Regions from separate parts of the Homo sapiens genome. Here all the other regions are linked to region 2. Evidence: promoter capture Hi-C in 16 types of primary human blood cells and fetal thymus (Javierre and others, 2016). All regions are on one chromosome and are shown on one strand. Each heading gives the region's core, a stretch centred on a gene start or on the middle of the fragment in contact. The rest is flanking DNA. Distances are from core to core; before and after follow the strand shown. Region 1 overlaps LOC105372091 (a long non-coding RNA gene). Region 2 holds the start of SETBP1-DT (SETBP1 divergent transcript). Region 3 overlaps LOC105372091 (a long non-coding RNA gene). Region 4 overlaps LOC105372091 (a long non-coding RNA gene). Region 5 overlaps LOC105372091 (a long non-coding RNA gene). Region 6 has its middle 210 kb from the start of MIR4319. Region 7 overlaps LOC101927961 (a long non-coding RNA gene).

The links. The method cuts DNA at HindIII sites, captures the fragments that hold promoters and counts their contacts. A CHiCAGO score of 5 or more calls a contact.
Region 1: a contact is called between a fragment that was not itself captured here and the fragment with the promoter of SETBP1-DT in region 2, in 1 of 17 cell types (total B cells). The highest score is 5.1, in total B cells.
Region 3: a fragment that was not itself captured here is called in contact with the fragment with the promoter of SETBP1-DT in region 2 in 2 of 17 cell types (total B cells and naive B cells); the score reaches 9.8 in total B cells.
Region 4: a contact is called between a fragment that was not itself captured here and the fragment with the promoter of SETBP1-DT in region 2, in 2 of 17 cell types (naive B cells and total B cells). The highest score is 6.0, in naive B cells.
Region 5: a contact is called between a fragment that was not itself captured here and the fragment with the promoter of SETBP1-DT in region 2, in 1 of 17 cell types (naive B cells). The highest score is 5.8, in naive B cells.
Region 6: a fragment that was not itself captured here is called in contact with the fragment with the promoter of SETBP1-DT in region 2 in 4 of 17 cell types (total B cells, naive B cells, monocytes and 1 more); the score reaches 10.3 in total B cells.
Region 7: a contact is called between a fragment that was not itself captured here and the fragment with the promoter of SETBP1-DT in region 2, in 2 of 17 cell types (naive B cells and monocytes). The highest score is 6.9, in naive B cells.

What each region holds. Positions count from the first base shown.
Region 1 is chr18:45,079,598-45,082,297 of GRCh38, forward strand. All of the region lies in intron 3 of LOC105372091 (a long non-coding RNA gene), which reads right to left. Among named protein-coding and RNA genes, the nearest start is that of MIR4319, 110 kb to the left of the region's middle. The HindIII fragment of the contact is 4,823 bases long and covers 1-2,700 here.
Region 2 is chr18:44,678,514-44,681,213 of GRCh38, forward strand. SETBP1-DT (SETBP1 divergent transcript) reads right to left here and starts at 1,359. Exons shown (of 2, transcript NR_187430.2): 1 at 1,103-1,359; 2 at 1-376. It overlaps SETBP1 (SET binding protein 1), which reads left to right and starts at 2,375. Exons shown (of 6, transcript NM_015559.3): 1 at 2,375-2,508. RefSeq lists silencers at 500-1,139, 1,810-2,059, 2,200-2,249. The HindIII fragment of the contact is 7,071 bases long and covers 1-2,174 here.
Region 3 is chr18:45,099,818-45,102,517 of GRCh38, forward strand. All of the region lies in intron 3 of LOC105372091 (a long non-coding RNA gene), which reads right to left. Among named protein-coding and RNA genes, the nearest start is that of MIR4319, 130 kb to the left of the region's middle. The HindIII fragment of the contact is 3,343 bases long and covers 1-2,700 here.
Region 4 is chr18:45,138,967-45,141,666 of GRCh38, forward strand. All of the region lies in intron 2 of LOC105372091 (a long non-coding RNA gene), which reads right to left. Among named protein-coding and RNA genes, the nearest start is that of MIR4319, 170 kb to the left of the region's middle. The HindIII fragment of the contact is 6,545 bases long and covers 1-2,700 here.
Region 5 is chr18:45,120,690-45,123,389 of GRCh38, forward strand. All of the region lies in intron 2 of LOC105372091 (a long non-coding RNA gene), which reads right to left. Among named protein-coding and RNA genes, the nearest start is that of MIR4319, 150 kb to the left of the region's middle. The HindIII fragment of the contact is 522 bases long and covers 1,002-1,523 here.
Region 6 is chr18:45,181,738-45,184,437 of GRCh38, forward strand. It overlaps a transcript of SLC14A2 not described here. Among named protein-coding and RNA genes, the nearest start is that of MIR4319, 210 kb to the left of the region's middle. The HindIII fragment of the contact is 831 bases long and covers 871-1,701 here.
Region 7 is chr18:45,161,822-45,164,521 of GRCh38, forward strand. The region is part of intron 4 of LOC101927961 (a long non-coding RNA gene); the gene reads right to left. Among named protein-coding and RNA genes, the nearest start is that of MIR4319, 190 kb to the left of the region's middle. The HindIII fragment of the contact is 9,955 bases long and covers 1-2,700 here.

The DNA of each region.
Region 1 (2,700 bases), core at 82-2,581, 400 kb after region 2:
TATGAACAGTTCATCGCTCCAGTAAATTGCATATCGCAGTAAAAAGTTATCTCTCACAGCCCTACTCCTTAGGATCCTCAACGTGAAGATGATGAAGATAAAGGACTTTATGATGATTCACTTCCACTCAGTGAATAGTAAATAGATTTTTTCTTCCCTACAATTTTCTTAGTAATATTTTTTCTCTAACTTTATCATAAGAATACAGTATATAATACGTATGACATACAAAATACGTGTTAATTGTTTATATTATTGGTAAGGCTTCCAGTCAACAGTAGGCTATTACTAGTTAAGTTGAAGGGGGAGTCAAAAGTTATACACAGATTTTTGACCGTGAGGCTCTCGGCACCCCAACCCCGATGTTGTTCAAGGGCCAACTGCATTTTCAATTTCTCCTGTCTTCTGTCACTTTATTTCTGAGTTTTCCTAATTATAAATTATGCTATTATTTCATGTCTCTTATTATTTTCATATATCTTTTGCCTCATTTTGAAACAGTGAATTAGAATTTTGATTTGTGGGCATAAGTTATTGATATGTTTTTAATTCTGTCTCTTTTTCTCTTTTCTTTTTTTTTTTTATTTTTAATTTTTTTTTTTATTATACTCTAAGTTTTAGGGTACATGTGCACATTGTGCAGGTTAGTTACATATGTATACATGTGCCATGCTGGTGCGCTGCACCCACTAACGTGTCATCTAGCATTAGGTATATCTCCCAATGCTATCCCTCCCCCCTCCCCCGACCCCACCACAGTCCCCAGAGTGTGATATTCCCCTTCCTGTGTCCATGTGATCTCATTGTTCAATTCCCACCTATGAGTGAGAATATGCGGTGTTTGGTTTTTTGTTCTTGCGATAGTTTACTGAGAATGATGGTTTCCAATTTCATCCATGTCCCTACAAAGGACATGAACTCATCATTTTTTATGGCTGCATAGTATTCCATGGTGTATATGTGCCACATTTTCTTAATCCAGTCTATCATTGTTGGACATTTGGGTTGGTTCCAAGTCTTTGCTATTGTGAATAGTGCCGCAATAAACATACGTGTGCATGTGTCTTTATAGCAGCATGATTTATACTCATTTGGGTATATACCCATTAATGGGATGGCTGGGTCAAATGGTATTTCTAGTTCTAGATCCCTGAGGAATCGCCACACTGACTTCCACAATGGTTGAACTAGTTTACAGTCCCACCAACAGTGTAAAAGTGTTCCTATTTCTCCACATCCTCTCCAGCACCTGTTGTTTCCTGACTTTTTAATGATTGCCATTCTAACTGGTGTGAGATGATATCTCATAGTGGTTTTGATTTGCATTTCTCTGATGGCCAGTGATGATGAGCATTTCTTCATGTGTTTTTTGGCTGCATAAATGTCTTCTTTTGAGAAGTGTCTGTTCATGTCCTTCGCCCACTTTTTGATGGGGTTGTTTGTTTTTTTCTTGTAAATTTGTTTGAGTTCATTGTAGATTCTGGATATTAGCCCTTTGTCTTTTCCTTTTAATAACTTTTATAGGATTTAGAAGTTGATACTTTTCTGTTTCTAATTTTTATTTGAAATTAGTTTTCCTAAACTTTTAGAAAGAGACAGTGTCCAAGATAGTTTTTCTAATTTTGCAGCACTCCATCTTCTGTCGTTTCCCTGTGGTGTGAAAAATGTTGGTTTGCTTTCTAGGATTTCTTGGCTCTGTTTCCCTCACCCACTTTTATTTGAACCTTCTCTTTCCATCCTTTCTATGGTTCCTAACTTCTCTTATGTCATTTTAAATGACATGAGGATTTGACTATTAAGCATATTCTCAAGGCTTGACCATGTGCTACATGCTGGTAGATGTTAAGACGGCCTAGAGCCCATCTCTGATCACAAGTTAAGGGTCTTTCCAAGTTTAATTGTAGATATGCCACACAAAATAAATGGGCCAGACTACCCACATTGGCAGAGTTAAGGAGAGAAAAATAATATATCTAGATGTAGATAGGAACTGAGTTTGACCTTAAAGAGTAGATATGGACTGCCTGAAAAAGTAAAGAATGTAGGCAGACAGGTCTACAGATGGCCCTGGCCAATCCAGCTCTCCTTCCTCCAGCTCTTATTTCTCAGAATAACTGTAGAACGTTCTAAGAATGTGACATCCTGAAATAAAGAGGAAGTGTCCAGGGCAACACAGTCTCTGCCCTCATCCCTCGTAAAACAGGATGCTCTGCAACACTTGGGCTCAGCAAACCAAGAGACACCCGGGGTATAAAACCCAAGAGCAGAGTGCTTTCTGGGGCCCTCAGCTGCAGTGAAACATACAGCATGTGCAGACAGAACTCCATTCGCCTGGGGCAACTTGCCAGAGCCTGGAGTCTGGCTCCCCAGGGATCCTAGGCTTCTATTTGTTCTTATCTGTGAGTGAAAAATTTGTTTTGCTTCACGTGTGGTGTGACTGTTCTGTCTCACTGAGCTTGAGAACCTTTGCAAAGGTGAGGCATTCCCTGGCATGTGCCAAAAATGCAGGGAAGTGGGTGGGGTGGGGGATGAAAATACAAGCAAATATGTGGTTAAGGTTTATGCACAGGAGCGGACATGGTGGCTCACGCCTGTAATCCTAGCACCTTGGGAGGCTGAGGCGGGCAGATCACTTGAGGCCAGGAGTTCGAGACCAGCCTGGCCAACATGGTGAAACCTCATCTCTATTAAAAACACAGA
Region 2 (2,700 bases), core at 109-2,608:
CGTACCTCCAAATCATTCCTCAGTCCAAATAGCCTAAAACTCTCATGAAGAACGTGATAGGAGTCCTCTCAGAATCCGAGTCCTCGGTCAACTTTACCCCAAGTTCTTTGAGCGGAACCATTTGCAGACCTTCCCGAATCCGTATCTATCCTATATTGTTTTACAATGTAGACATGTCTCTGAAGGGTTCCATTCGTGTTTCCCTGAAAAGACCCCCTTTGTAGGCCAAATACAAAAACTCAGAGATTACAAATGCCACCATATTTTGTAAGAACTGAAGACATTCCACTTTGTTCTTCCCACCCTGAAAACAACTGCATGCCAGTCTGCGTTTGTCATCTCTCCGTGTCCTTCCCTTCATCAAGTGTCCAATTCTCTTGAATAACGAGAAAATGCACATGAGATCTGAATGCATACAAGTCGCTTAACAACAACAATAAAATAATAATAATAATTTAAAAAAACCCTGAAAGTGAAATATAATTACCAGGTTAAAAAAAAAATGCGCCCAGTTTCGAGAGCCTATCACAGCTCACGTCTGGGCGCGCAGTACCCCCCCGACACTGCTCCTGTTGTGTCAGATAGTGGCAGTGTTGAGCCCAGGAATACGCGCGGAGCCCGCGGCGATCCCCGCGGCCGCTCAGTCTTCGCGGCGGACTCCGGCGCGCAGGAGCCACTGGGCCGCAAGGGCGCCGGGGAGCGGGAGGGGCGCTGGGGGCGGCAAGGGGTCCCAGATCCCAGGCCACGAACTGTTTTCCTTTTCCCCGGGCAAGAGCCCCGCTCCCTTCAACTGACAGAAATTCACTGGGGCAGGGGGGCGAGTGGGGAGAGAGGTCGCTCAGGGCTCGCTACTGGCTGCGCCTCCCCCGGCTCTGGTCTGGGAAGCGGCTCTGGGCCCTCCGGGCGAGCAGCTTGGGCGCCGGCGCCCCCTGCGAGGAAGATCGCGGGGTGACGGTCGGTACCCGTTCGGCTGGGCCGCGCTGCCGCTCCGATCCACCTCCCTTCCGCGCCCGCGCCCTCCCCCTTCCTTTCACTAGGAGTCCGGGATTCGGAGAGGGCGCGGGAGGCAGGCACACGGGCCCGACCCCACTCCAGCGCTCACCGGGGACGCGGGCGGGCGGCGACGGGACGCGGCGGGGGCGCGGGGCGGGCGCGGCCATGGAGCAGCAGCGGCGGCGGCGGCGGCGGCGGCGGCAACACTAGCGACCGCGGGCGGACGAGCGGGCGGGCAGGGCCGCCGGGCTCAGCGGACCGAACTGCACAGCTCAGCAAAAGCGCCCTCGCCCTCCGCGCGCCGCCTCCTGCGAGCCCAAACCCACCAACATTTTTTAACGCTCCAACCCATCCTTTGAAGAAAAGCAAAAAAAAAAAAAAAAAAAAAAAAAAAAGCAAAAAAAGAAAAAGCATTGATCGGAGAGACGGGGATATATATATATATATATATATATATATATATATAAAATTTTTTTTGGCTCCTGCTAAAATTAGCAGGGCTCGCCGCGCGCCTGTGTGCCAGTGTGTGCGAGTGTGTGTGCGTGCGGGCGTGTGTGTGTGAATGTGATTACTCCAGGACTCCTCGGGCTCCGGAGACGCCATTTTCCCCCTTGATATCTCTCTCCATAAATCGGTGGCGCGGCGGAGGCGGCAGAGTCGGGCGGGAAGCGCGGGGCCGGCCGGGGCGCCCGCCGCTCGCCGCCGCCTCCGCGCGCCCGGGGGCCCCGGCGCCCCCCGAGCTAGGGCGGCCAGCTCGCGGCTCGCCGTTTGACAGATGCTCATCGCCATGGAGTTGCCGCAGCAGCACCTTTGGGGGCTCGGGCGAGCGACGGGAGCCGGGATCTGAGCGAGCGCCGGGGCCAGCGGAGCCGGAGCCGCCGGGACATGGGTGAGCACGCGCGGCGACCTTGGCCCGGGAGCCCGGGCGCCCAGCCTCCCTCCGCGCCGCGGGCCCCCGCACTCCCGGAACCGGGGGCGACGTGTGTGCCCTGCATGCAAAAGTTCACGTCGCCTTGCTGGGTCTTTGACTTTGCACCCGGCGGGAAGGGGGAGACCGGGCCGAGGGGGCGGGATGCCGGTCCGGGCGAGGTTGCAGGAGATGGGCGCGATTCCGGCGGGCCGGCGGGTGGGCGGCGATGCTGGCTCAATTGGAGTGGCTCGTTGGTGGCGGCGATGGTGGAAGCTTTGGGCTGGAGGGCTGGGAGCTTATTGAGTTTCGCCTAATCTGATCTACCCCCCCTCCGCCCCCCGCCTTTTGCACCCTCCCTCGGTCCTGCAGCCGGCTGGCGGGGCTGGCGGGTTTGGCGTTGGTGGAGTGGACTCGGGAGGGGGAGGGGGTAAGGAAAGGGGTGGGAAGGCAGGATTTTTTTTTTCTCTCTTTGTAACTTGCAGGTTAAGTGGAGCTAGAGAGCTACATTGTAACCTAGTTGGATTTTTTTGGGGGGGGAATGTATCAGAATCTAACGTGTCGTTAATAGAAAGAAGAACAGGCAAGAAGTGGTCCAGCCGGCGAAGGTTGGTGTGTGCTTGTGTTGTGCCTGTGTGTTAGTCTTTTTCTTAAAAATCTTAATCAATGGATTTGAGTCTCTTTCTTGTGCTCTCTGGTTTTGGGACTCTGAAAAGATAGGAATTCCCTTAAAAGCAGACGAATGCCTTTTTGAAAGCACGCATTGTGTGCGTTTCTAGAGGAGCCGTGGGCTTGGGAAT
Region 3 (2,700 bases), core at 146-2,645, 420 kb after region 2:
TCAGGAGGCTGAGGCAGGAGAATTCCTTGAACCTAGGAGGCAGAGGTTGCAGTGAACCGAGATTGTGCCACTGTACTCCAGCCTGGGTGACAGAGCGAGACTCTGTCTCAAAAAACAAACAAACAAACAACAACAATAACAACAAAAAATGAGGACACCGAAGTTCACTGGAGGAAACTCATCTATCCAGTGCCCAGTTGGTTGATTTGCAGGAACCTGAAAATAAGGCTACTATGAAATCCTCTTCCTTCTTCCACCTTCTTGCTTCCTTCCTCTTCTTTCCTATGACCCTGTGCATGACAACATGGGAAGGGTTCCACCTATATATTCAGACCTAATAAAAACCTTGTAAACAGGGTATTTTTCTCCTCGTTCTGTAGATTTAGAAATTTAAAATTTACTAGAGTTAAAAAACCCACTTAAGGCACTTAAATAGTAACTGTTGAAGCTGTGTTTGTCCGATGCCAAATCCTGTGTTCTTACCTCGTTTACTACAAGAATGATATGACTTCCTGAAAGAAACTTTGTTTTTGTATTGCTATGGAAAAATCACCCAAGATATACTAACAAAAGATCATCACGATATGCAAAAGACAGCACAGGGCATGGGACTTTGTGTAAAAAAAGAAATATATAAAAACATATATTTTATTGGATTGAGTATGCCAAACTATTTACACGAATGGACAGTAAATTAATCACAGGGATTACTGTGGAAACTTGGCAAATAAGGCAAGAGTGGGAGACTTCTCACAGTACTTTAAAAATACATGTTAAAATTTGAAACATATACATGGATTATCTCAACTTTTTTAAATTTAAAGCAGGTTTTACAAAGTATATGGCTTTTTATCTTGGCCATTTTGACATGGGGCCTTTTTAACCTGGTCATTAATTACAACTATTATAACTGTATAACTGCATGTCAGACATACTGCAATTATTCATTGTTGAGCCATGCCAAATCAAAACCAGTACAGAAGCCTCAAGATTATGTCTAGAGCTTCTGCTTTTACCAAAAGTACATGAGGACTTTGAGAGAGAGGCATTGTGAGGCCAGCTTCCCAGTCTTTAGCCACCCGACTGCCACAAGGCCTCACGTAGTTTTGCCATGTTGGAATAACCCCTGCCCATGGTCAGTTCTTTAGCCTCATATGCTCATTCACTTTCATTTTCCTCTTGACCAAAAGTAGATCTGTATGGCCAGAATAGATTCACATTATCTAGGTTTATAAGAGCCTGGAATATAAACTACAGAGCCAGCTTAGTAATTTATAATGAGACATATAACAGAAGAGCCAACACATTCTCTCCCGTAGGCAAAGACACATGGTGGTGCAACCTGTATTAACAGATTGCTTAATCCATATGTCGTGAGAACAGGGTGGATGAGCTCTGTGCTGGTGAGCAGTAGTTCAAGGTTGATACTACTATCTCTGCAGCAGGAACAGCTGTGCCACCAGGACCTGGTAGGTTCTGTCCTCAGGTCTGGACACATCTCCCTTGGTCATGGCTTAGATGACCCTGGAACTCCACAGTGTTGTGCTTCTGATAGACATGTTCTCCCTCTTTAGACCTGTTAAAATATTCAGCCTGGTTACGTTTGAACTGGTGACTATTCGGATCTTTAAGATGACTTAGCACAGTTTAGTTCTAATCACTACTTGAATGAATTACACGAACCTGAAATGGCCAGCCTCATTTACCTTAATCTCCAATTTTAGTGTCTCCTTCCTGTGAACTTCTTGCCACACCTACCATGAACGTTCTACAGAACCCCTGTCTCCTGACCCCACTCCCAGGATTTTTCATGCACTCTTCCTGAGAGCTGACCAGCTGTAAGTTGTGGCCAACTGAAAATACTCAAATCTGATATCCAATCCTGAGGCTTTGTTTCCTTCAGTCTGGAAAACTATATTTTCAATTTCTCTGTTTACATGAAAGGGAAATAGTGTATTTTTGTATTAGGACTGTATACCTACATAAGAGTGAGTTGGCCTCCACATTAAGTGTCAGAGAGTACAGAGGAAGGAACCATAAGATTCCTCCAGAAAGGAGGTGAAAGGACTGGATGGAGCATCTTGTTTACTACAGAAGGTGGTGAAAGAGCCACAGACAGACTTGAACAGTCTCACACTTTTGCTGATAGCTGATGCTGCAAGAGAGCATCCAAGGGAATTGAAGATCCTCAAGTCTGTCCTCACTTCTGCTAAGGGTGTTTCCCTGGCAATTTTTTTATAAAGCAAATTCCTCCGGAAAGATCATATATTCAAAGTCAAAAGTGCAGGAGGATGTATGGCAGTGCCTTTCTGGGAACTGTTTTCTTTTTTTTCACGTGAGGTCCTTCCTTTTTTGTTAAACTACATTGTACACATTCATTTCTTGTTGTACACAACAGAAATTCAGAGTAAAAAGTAAGAGTTAGAAACTTCTGTAGCAATGTGACATTTTCTCTACGTCCAAGTGTAAAACCAGTGGACTTTAGCCCAGGAAAAGGGAATAAATGGGTTTGAACATTGTCAAAGTCATGTGGTAAGTGGTACATAAAGCAATCTGCATAGAAACATACGTAATAGGACCATGCACTGGTCTGTAATGAATGAGGGGAAAAATATTGGTCCTTCTCCCTCACAGGTAGCTTGGAAAGCACTTCTGTATGGTGAAAGTCTTCCTCTTGTTCTTATTCCTCAGCTATCCAGT
Region 4 (2,700 bases), core at 83-2,582, 460 kb after region 2:
CTCAACCTCCCAAAGTGCTAGGATTGCAAGTGCGAGCTACCATACCCAGCCCTGGATATCCTCCTTCTAGCTCTTTGAAACTATATATTATGGTTAACTATAGGCATTCTACAGTGCTATACAACACTAGAACTTATTCCCCTTATTATGTTGTAATTTTGAATCCTTTAGCAAGTATCTCTTTATTCCCGTTTCCCCCACCGTTTTCAACCTCTAATATCTTCTGTTCTACTTTTTACTGATGAAAGGTCAAATTTTTTTTGCTTCCACATATGAGTGAGAATATGTGATGTTCAACTTTCTGTTCCTGGCTTATTTCACTTAACATGATGTCCTCCAGTCCCATCCATGTTGCTTTGAATTAAAAGATTTCACTTTTTTATGGCTGAATAGTATCCCATTGTGTATACCATATTTTCTTTATTCAATCATCTGTTGTTGGACACCTAGTTGATTCCATATCTTGGCTATTGTGAATAGTGCTGTGATAAACATGCGGGTCTGCGCAGAGGTCTCTTCAAGATACTGATTTCCTTTTCTTTAGATAAATGCTCAGTATCTGAATTATATGGTAGTTCTATTTGCAGTTTTTTGAGGAACATCCATATGGTTCTTCATAGTGGCTGTACTAGTTTACGTTTCTATCAACAGTGTGTAAGAGTTCACTTTTCTCCACACCTCACGAGCATCTGTTCTTTCTTGTCTTTTTGATGATAGCCGGGCCAACTGGGGTGAGATGACACCTCACTGTGGTTTCGATTTGCATTTCCCTGATGATTAGTGACACTAAGCATTTTAAAAATATATTTGTTGGCCATTTGTATATCTCCTTCTGAGGAATGTCCATTCAGATCATTTGCCCTTTTTTTTTTTTTTTTTGCTGTTGAGATACTTGAGTTCCTTGTATATTCTAGATATTAATTCCCTGTCAGATGTATACTTTGCAAATATTTCCCCCATTTTGTAGGTTGTCTTTTAACTGTATTGATTGCTTCCTTTGCTATGTAGACGCTTTTTAGATTCATATAATCCATTTGTTCACTTTTGCTTTTGTTGCCTGTGCTTTTGAGGCCTTATTCATAAAATATTTTCTCAGACCAATGCCCCAAAGTGCTTTCTATATGTTTTCTTCTAGTAGTTTTACAGTTTCAGGTCTTACTAAAGTCTTTGATTCATTTTGAGTTGATTTTTTGTAGGATGAGAAGTGGGGGGTCTAGTTTTATTCTTCTGTACATGAATATCCAGTTTTCCAGCACCATTTACTGAAGAGATTACTCTTTCCCCAATGTATGTTCTTGGTGCCTTTGTCAAAAATGAGTTGGCTGTACATAATAGATTAATTTCTGGGTTCTCTATGCTGTTTCATTTGTTTATGTTTCTGTTGTATACCATTTTATCTTTACTATTGGCTCATTATTTATATCTCTTTTAAAATTTTCTTTTCAGTAGTTGCCCCAGGATTTATAGTACACAACTTTAATTAGTCACAGACTGCCTTCAAATGATAGTATGCCATTTCATGTGTAGTGTAAGCACATTATGACACCATACTCCCACTTTTTTCCATCTGTCTTTTATGCTATAGTTATTATACATTATGCTGTTACTACATGCAATAAACACAAAATACATTGTTACTATTTTGCCTTAGAAAATTATATCCACAGTAATAAAAATTAGAATAAAATAAATTTTATACTTACCCTATGTCATTTCCATTGCTTTTTATTTCTTTTTGTATATTCAGTTTATTCTCTGGTATTATATTCCATCTGCCAAAAAAACTTCTTTTAACATTTCTTGCAGTGTTGGTGGTAGTGAATTTTATCAATTTTTGCTTGTATAAGAAATTTATTTTAGCTTTATTTTAGTTTTATTTTTAAAAGATATTTTCACTTGGTAGAGAACTCTCTATTGATGTCTTAAAAATTTAGCAGTTTGAAATTATTCTCCATTCTCTTGCAGCTTGCATACTTTCTGATGAGTAGTCTTCTGTAATTCTTATCTCTCTTTCAGTATATGTAATGTATCTCCCACCAACTTTCCCCCAGCTCCTTCTAGAGTTTTCTCTTTATCTTTGATTTTCAACAGTCCAAATATGATTTGTTTAGGTGTATTTTGGGGGATATAGATAAATATCTTGATTGATGTTCTCTGTACTTCTTGCAGTTGTGAGTTGGATGTTTTCATTAATTTTGAAAAATTTTTGGTCATTATAACTTTCACATTTTTTTCTCCTTTCTCTTCCTATTTTTTTTTGAAATTTCAATTGTAAATACAGTAGACTGTTTGACATTGTCCCACAGTTCTTGGATATGCTTCTGTTTCTTTTCTTTTCTTTTCTTTTCTTTTTCTTGCTTGCTTGTTTTTTTTTTGTTTTGTTTTGTTTTGTTTGTTTTTTGTTTTTTTTGCTTGCTTCCTTTTTCTATTCTTATTTCTTTCTGTTTTAGTTTGGGTACTTTTTGTTGACCTACCTTCAAGTTCACTGATTGTTTTTCTATTCTCTGTTACTCTTTTTATGAGTTCATCAAAGACATTTTTGTATATTTTGTTTCTCTTTTATTTTTGGCATATTCATTTGATTCGATCATGTAATTTCCATCTTTATTTCTGTTCTCTAAAATTTTTCTATATGTTCATACATCCCTGCCTTTTCTACTAAAGCCTTTAGTCTATTAATTACAGTTACTTTAAATTTCT
Region 5 (2,700 bases), core at 13-2,512, 440 kb after region 2:
TGAAAACTACCCTCATTCTTTCTTTCTTTTTTTTTTTTTTTTTTTTTTTTTTTTTTTTTTTTTTTTTTTTTGAGATGGAGTCTTGCTCTGTTGCCCAGGCTGGAGTTCAATGGCACGATCTCGGCTCACTGCAACCTCTACCTCCCAGGTTCAAGCAATCCTCCAGCCCAGCCCCCTAGTAGCTGGGTTTACAGGCCCACACCACCATGCCCAGATAATTTTTTGTATTTTTAGTAGAGATGGGGTTTCACCACGTTGGCCAGGCTGGTTTTGAACTCCTGACCTCAGGTGACCCACCCAACTCGGCCTCTCAAAGTGCTGGGATTATAGGCATGAGCCACCACACCAGCCCAAACCACCCCCATTCTTACCACCCAAGTCATGCCTCTTATGTCTGAAGTGCTAGGACCTCTAAGATCTAACCAGATCTTGTACTATTCTGGACTGTACCCTGAAGTGATAAGGAATTTGAGCACAGGAGCCATGTCTTTTCATCCTCTTTCACAGGAAGATGCTAAATAAAAATGTGTTAACTGATTCATAGCTCTGACATTTCCACTCATATTCACAGCCCACTAGACTGCGGTACTTTTCCCTCAAATCTCTGGCTGAAATCCTGTTAAAAGGACAAGCAGGATATTTCCATTCTCAGGGATTGTCAGTAAGCACCAGCCCTGCCAATGCCCACAGATGAGTCCCTGCCTCTTCTGTTCTGTGAAAGTGAGGGGGACCCTATAACCAGCCTCTCCCACTCAGAGAAAGTCATCATTGAGCTCCAAAAGCACTTGCAAATCTGGCTCTCTCTTTAAAGACTGTTGTTATTGAATTTTGATCACCAACAGTGGTAGCAAGGACAACATATGAGAGAGATAGAGAAAAAGAAGGGGAAAGAGAGAGAAAGAGACTGATTCCTTATCCTTGTGGTGATTTAAAAAAAAAAAAGGCATAAAAATTTAGAGACCTGAAATCAAATTATAGTTCTGCTCTTAACCAGCTCTGTAAGCTTGAGCAAGTCATTTCACGAACTTGAGCCTCAGTTTCCTTGCTTCTGAAATGATTATTTGAACTAGATAGTCTCTAATGACCCTTTCCATGTAATGATTCCAAGTGGAAAAGTCACAGGTAGTAAGTTATAAGAAGGTACGCAGGGAGTGGTGATGGGAAATGTGCTAACTCTTGCACTCTTTTCTGGAAAAAAGAAACAAAAATCTGTGTAGTTATTTATATGTCAGCAGAATTAAGGCTCTGGTGCGGCAACCTTCAGAACTCTACTTGGGCAAATGTGGAGATTCCATAGATGAGCATGACAGGAGGCTTATTTATTTGCATGTTTACTTGTGAGTACATGTGCATTTATTCATCATTTACATATTTACTTCATTGTTCAACAGATATCTGTTGAGCATGAAGGACTGTTGCACTGGGGATATAGCTGCACACAAAATAGATAATCCTGGCTTTCATAGGACTTATATTCCAATATTCCAGTAGTGACAGATAATAAATAGATAATACGTGAGCTAAGCTTAAGAAATCTGAAAATGGAGTAGGAAAAGGATATATAGTGAGGAATAGGAAAGGTGCTATTTTAGACATACTTTGTATGTTTGAGGGACAACTAAGAGCACAAAGTGTGTGGAGAGCACAATAAGGAAAGGGGGGAAATGAGATCAGGGCAGTGGCAGGGACAAGTATTATAGCATCTTACAGGAAGGTAGGTGTTTGGGCTTTTATTCTGAGTGAGATGGAAACCATTGCAGGGTTTTGAGTGGAAGAGTGCCACGATCTGACTAGGTTTTACAAGGCTCACTCTGCTGTACTGTGGAGAACACTGTGAAGGCAAGGCTGGAAGCAGAGCGACCAGTTGGGAGACAATTTAAATAACTTGGGAGAGAATGGATGGCTTCAGATTAAGGGCACAGCAATGGAAATGGGGAGACATGTTCTGGAATCTAAATGCATTTCCAAGGTTGAGCTGACAAACAGTGCTGATGAATTATATGTGTGGCATCAGAGAGAGACAGATGTTAAAGATGACTCATATTAAGGAGACTTAAAGTTTTTTCTTTGAGCAAGTAGCTGGTAGAATGAAGATGCCATTTGTGTTATAGGAAATAGAGTGAGAGCATGAGGGCTTTGGTGTAAGGCTTCAAATCAAGAGTCCTGTTTCAAACATGTAAAGCTTGAGTTACCTTTCAGATCTCCAAGTAGGGGTGTGGAGAAGGACATTATAGCCATGCATCTGGGTATCAGAAAAAGGTCAAAGGTAGAGATATAAATTTGGCCATCACCAGCATATAGCTAGTATTTCAGCCCTGAGACTGAATAAATTCACCAGATAAAATAGATGAGGAAGATGACCAAAAACTAAGCCCTGGGACTCTCTGACACTTAAAGGTCAGAAGGATGATGAGAGTGATCAGCTCTATCAAATGATTCAGATTCTGGTAAGTCTACTAGGATAAGGGATTTTATTTAGAATACCCATTGTGACGCAGGCAACTTTTCTTTTCCCTCATTTGCAATTGTTCTTCCAATCAATAGCCTTTCCTGCTCATTTGAATATGAGAAATGACCACTAAAATGAAATTAAGGCTCTGGTCCACTGCCATCCACCACTTGCATGAAGGCTCAGGACTGGCTTCTGTTTGGGATCAATTAGTGTGTGGATGGGTGTGTGTGTGTGTGTGTGTGTGTGTG
Region 6 (2,700 bases), core at 36-2,535, 500 kb after region 2:
AATAACATCAAAATGTATTTGAAACTCATAAGAAATATAAAAAGAAATTTACAGAAAAACAGTTTACTTTAATATATCTGTGCGACTCTTTATTAAGTAGATTAAGATAATTTGAATATAATAATGAGTTTCCATTAATATGTATTAAACAAGAGTTTATTTTTTAACCTGTGCCATTTCTCTTTAAAAACTTGGGTTAAGAGGAAATCAAAAGTACAATTACAAACTGGTTAAAAAGTTCCTAAAACGAGAGAGTATTTATCAAAATATATGATTTATGGCCAAAAGAGAATCATTGGCAAATTCACACCATTATATGTTTTTGTTTATTAAGCAATAAGAAATGAAAGTAATTAAGCAGCCAAGTAAGTTTCAGAGGATTACCACACTAATCTAAAAAATAAAGAGAGTAAAATAGTATGTATAAAATAAAAATCAATGAATTATGAAATAGGAAAATTAGATAAACAGACTTTTAAAAATAATATTTGGTACGTTAGAAAAAATAATCACAATAAATGACCTTAGGAAAATTGAATCAGGAAAAAAAGATAGGATAAGAGACACAGTACTTTTAAAGTAACACAATACTGTATAAAATGCTATAGTGATAAATTCAAAGAAATGGATCGTTTTCTTGAAAAAGACCTTTCAACATTGATTTAAAAGGAAAAAATAACTGAAAAAAATTGTTAAAGACTGTAACTGATTTGAAAAATGTGTTATTTCAAACTTTGAAAAGATAAATAATTCTCATGTTTTACCAGAGCATAGAAAAATATAAAAAGTAATTAGTAAAAAAATTGACTTTAAAACTCCTAAGGCCAACGAGAGTATTTTATAATACAGAAAAGATACATAGACATCAGAAGCTTTCCTATGTTTCACAAAGAAACAGAAACTATTATAAAAAACAAGTCCTTTTAAAAAATAAATACAAAAATATATAAAGCAACAACAAAAAATATATAAAGTAGAAGAGTATAAAATGTGCTATAGTTTCATTAAGAAAAATCACACAGTTGTCTGAAAAGCATGAAATATGACTTAATACATGAGAAATATGCTACATTTGTACATAGGAAAATTCATATAAATATGACAGTTCTTCTGATTGTAATTTATAGGTTAATTCAATCTGAAGTGATTCTAGAATTTATCTGGAAGAATAAAGGCTACAGATTGCCAAGAAATTTTTTTTAAATAAAAATCATGAGGGAATAATTAAAACAGTACCGTATTGGTGCTAGACTTGACAGATTGGTGACTAGAACAGTATAAATGGCCAAAAACAGAGACTGGTATAGATTAGAATTATGAACAGTTAGATTTGGAAATGTAGTTCCTGGGTCCATCTGTTCATAAGCCCAAGTGATGATGAGGGTACTGTTTGCGCTGGCTTCCCCCAGTGCATTCCCACTGAACCAGATTGAGAGGTCGTCTTTCAGTGCTTTAAACCCAGGCACACCCTTCAGCTTCTTGCTGATCCTCCTGCAATGGCTTATCCTTTAGGAAACCATGTCAGTTCCGTGAAGGCTGATAACACCTCTTGGGGTAGGCCGCTCCCTCCTTGAACATCTCTGTATGTGCTTGGAGACCCTCAGCAGTTAACCTCACCTTTTATCTTGCTGCACACTTTGATGTGCTGATTTGAATGAGCCTTGAAGTGGGATGGATCAGCAGCCTACTCGCACCATATAAAGCTTTTATTTTCTCAAACTCCTATCCTCTCAGAACATTTACCAAACAAGCCACTGATGTTGATCATGTTTCTTTAGCCCACATCCAAAATATTTCCCATTAGCTTTGTTAGTGTAGATTATTGTTTATTGCAGAGGAGTCTGACACTTTCCTAGGTTGCACAATTTGCTTTTGTCCATCTGAGCCTTTTCTTTCCTTTCTTTTCCTTTTCTTTCTTTTTCTTTTTTTCTGTCTTTCTTTCTTTCTCTCTTTCTCTCTGTCTCTCCTTCTCTCTTTCTTTTCTTTCTCTCTTTCTTTCTTTTCTTTCTTTCAAGACAGGGCCTTGCTCTGTGGCTCAGGCTGGATGGAGTGCAGTGGTGTGATCATAGCTCACTGCAGCATCCAACTCCTGGGCCAAGCTATCCACCTCTCAGCCTCCCAACAAGCTGGAACTGTAGGCAGCACCACCTCACCTGGCTAATTTTCTAATTTTTTTTTTTTTTTTTTTTTTTTTTTTGTGAGACATGGAGTCTCATATGTTGCCCAGGCTAGTCTCAAACTCCTGCCCTCAAGCAATCCTCCAATCTCGGGCTCCCAAAGTGCTGAGATTACAGGCATGAGCCACCATGCCCAGCCATCAGGGTCATTTCTGACTGTGGAACTATTCATTCTACACATGTGTGCAATATTTACAAGTTTCTGAGTGCTTGCAATCATTAGTAATGTTCTATTTTTTAAAACTGCTTAAAAATGATCTCTACTTTTGTTTCTGTCATTATCTTACTATAGTCACACTGCTATTGTGTTTATCTGATATAATAGGGTTAATGATGTTAGAAAACTCAAATTTAGCAATGAAAAAAGCAAATACATGTAGTAAGTTAACTAAAATTACCACAGGTGACCACTAATGCCACTCTTTGGTGGCAAATGCAGTCAAAATACTCTTGCTCTGAAACATAGCTTGATTCCTATTTAAGTTCATAAGCAGAGGAGATTCTACAACAATGTCATCACCAA
Region 7 (2,700 bases), core at 122-2,621, 480 kb after region 2:
TTCCAGTCTCCTAACATGCCAGGCAGTTTCATGTCTTCCTGTCTTTACTGGTGCGGCTCCCTCTGTCTGAACTAACCCCAACCCTCCATAGCCGCCCAGCAATGCCTTTGCTTCCTGACCAATTCTACCTCAGTAACATCCCTCTATTAATTCTCTTCCTGACCTCTATCTGTCCTCAGAGAACTGACACTTCCTCATTCGCAAGCCTGCCTTCTTTCCGGAGTGAACGTTTTTGGTTCTGACGGGTTAGAAGTTTCACTGTCAGACCAGGTCATGCCTGTTACCTGTTGCCCATGGGTGGTTTCCCTCATGGTATTGCAAGGAGATGGGAAATAGACATACCAAATGGTTAAGACAATTCCTTTTTCTGTTTGTTTTGATTTCTAGAGCCAGCCTTGTGGTAAATATGCATCATGTAAGAAAGAGCAGAAGTACTGAGAAATGCCAAGACCATACTACAGTCATACATGAAGAAAAACCAGGATTGGAATGAGTGAATGGAAGTCATGTAACTTTGACTACATTCAGCTCTTAAAGCAAGGCCATTTAACTATCTTACTATCACAAAAGGAAATATATTTGTATGACTGTTTTCTGATTTTAATTGTATAAAAATATTAACTTACTAAATATTATTGAGTACTCATGCTGTACCAGGAAATATTCTGTGAGTTTTACACACATTGGTCCATGTTATCCACACAATGTCACTACAAGATAGGTCGTTTTGCAGCTATAGGAGCTGAGGCTGAAAGCAACATAGCCAAGAATGAGCAGAGATGGATTTTAAACCCAGATTGTCAGGTCCTGCAACCTACACACATAATCATTATGCTTTGTTTAGGGTAATCAACTGTCCTGGTTTCTCTAGAAATAAACAGGTTCCTGTTACCTAGAACGTTCATTGCTAAAACCAGGAATGTCCTAGGCAAACTGAAACAAATTGGTCACTCCAGCTGTGCTACAGGATCAGGGCAACTGCAATGAGGTCTTAAGGGAAATGTTTGTTTGCTAGGGCTCCTGTAAAAGAGTATCACAAACTGGCTGGCTTAAACAACAGAAAATTGTTGTCTCAGAGTTCTGGAGGCCACAGCTCTAAAATCAAGGTATAGGCAAAGTTAGTTCTTTCTGAGGGCTGTGAGGGAGGGATCTGTTGCAGGCTCCTCCCCTTGGCTTATAGATGGCTTTCTTCATGTTCACGTGGCATTCTCACTGCATATGGGTCTGCCTCCAAATTTCCCCTGTTTTTAAGAGTGCCAGTCATACTAGATTAAGGCCTACCCTAATGACTTCATTTTAATTTGATGATCTCTGTGAAGACCTTATCTCCAAATAAGGTCACATTCTGAAGGGGTTAGACCTTCAGCATATGAAGTTTGGGAGACACAATTCAACCCAATGCAAGGATCATTTGATAATCAGGAGTCAGGGTCAAGGTCAGGCCATCAAGTATATCATAAGTCTTCCATTTTGTTGTATGTTCAATTCACCTACATAGCATAAAAATCAAACAACAGAAAACATTGCATTCAAGCCCCATAACAGACCAATTAAGTTGGAATTTTGATCATGGAGCCCCAGTGTTGGAAAAATTGTGAAAGCTCCCCAGATTAGTTTAATATACATCCAGGGCTGAGAATCTATTTGAGCTGAGGACCCTGCAACTAGCGGGATCAGAAGAAACAAGGTTGGGGGAAAGGGTTAGACAAAAACATAGAAGGGGAAAGTATGATCAAGGGTTCGTATTTATAGCAAAATCCCCCATTGGAATTGGGAGTGGTGGCACCAGGAGTTCAGGAGACAGAGGAAGGTGAGACAGGGTCAAGCCAAGAGGTAGTGAACAGAAGCTATGTGCTGACCTGGGCCAAGGTCTTCAGCTCTTCAGACCTGGGAGGAATCATTTACTGGCAGATAATAGAAAGCAGCTGATTTAAAAGCCAAATCCAGGAACTAGACTTGCTCAAGTGTCTGTCGGAGGCTCTATCTGCCCCTCTGCTGCTGCCGTTTATACAAGTCACAGACTCAGCCAGCCTACAGCCACCTCTAATCAGGAGGAACGTGAAGGATGATTTAATGTCTGAAACGTGGAGGCTCACAGGTACCCCACTTTCAGCAGATACACATTGTTTGAAAATCCAGATTTGTAAAATGGATGCATTAGAGAATATTTACTTCACAAAATGATTCACAGTGGGACTCCTTTAAATAGCCTGTTTCCCCTGGGCCAACTGATTTGATTTGCCAGAAGTCATTGCACACAATAGTTTTCCATAAGCACATCTGGCAAGAAGCATCATGAACAAAGTTTTAGAAGACAATAATTCTTGTGTTTCTGACACCAGTTTTGAACTTAAACACATAGTGCACCTCTCTGAGACTTCATTTTCTTATTTGCAAAATGAGAATATGGGTCCTGACTAGTTTAGTATCTTTAAGCAATGAAATATGTGTGAAAATAATTAGAAAATGCTGAAATGTCTTAACAAAATATATTTATGGAAGCCATTATTAACACTAACATGTGGCTTGAGGAAATCTTATGATTCTATTGTTATTTAGCTCATAATATTGGATGTGATGAGATGAAGATGCTTGCTCCATCAATGGCTTCAGGGAGGATGCTTTATGGCCTGAGCTCTGTTCCAAATTAGGACAATTAGGAAGTCTGTCCCTGACTTCATCACAGTGAAGAGGAGAGAA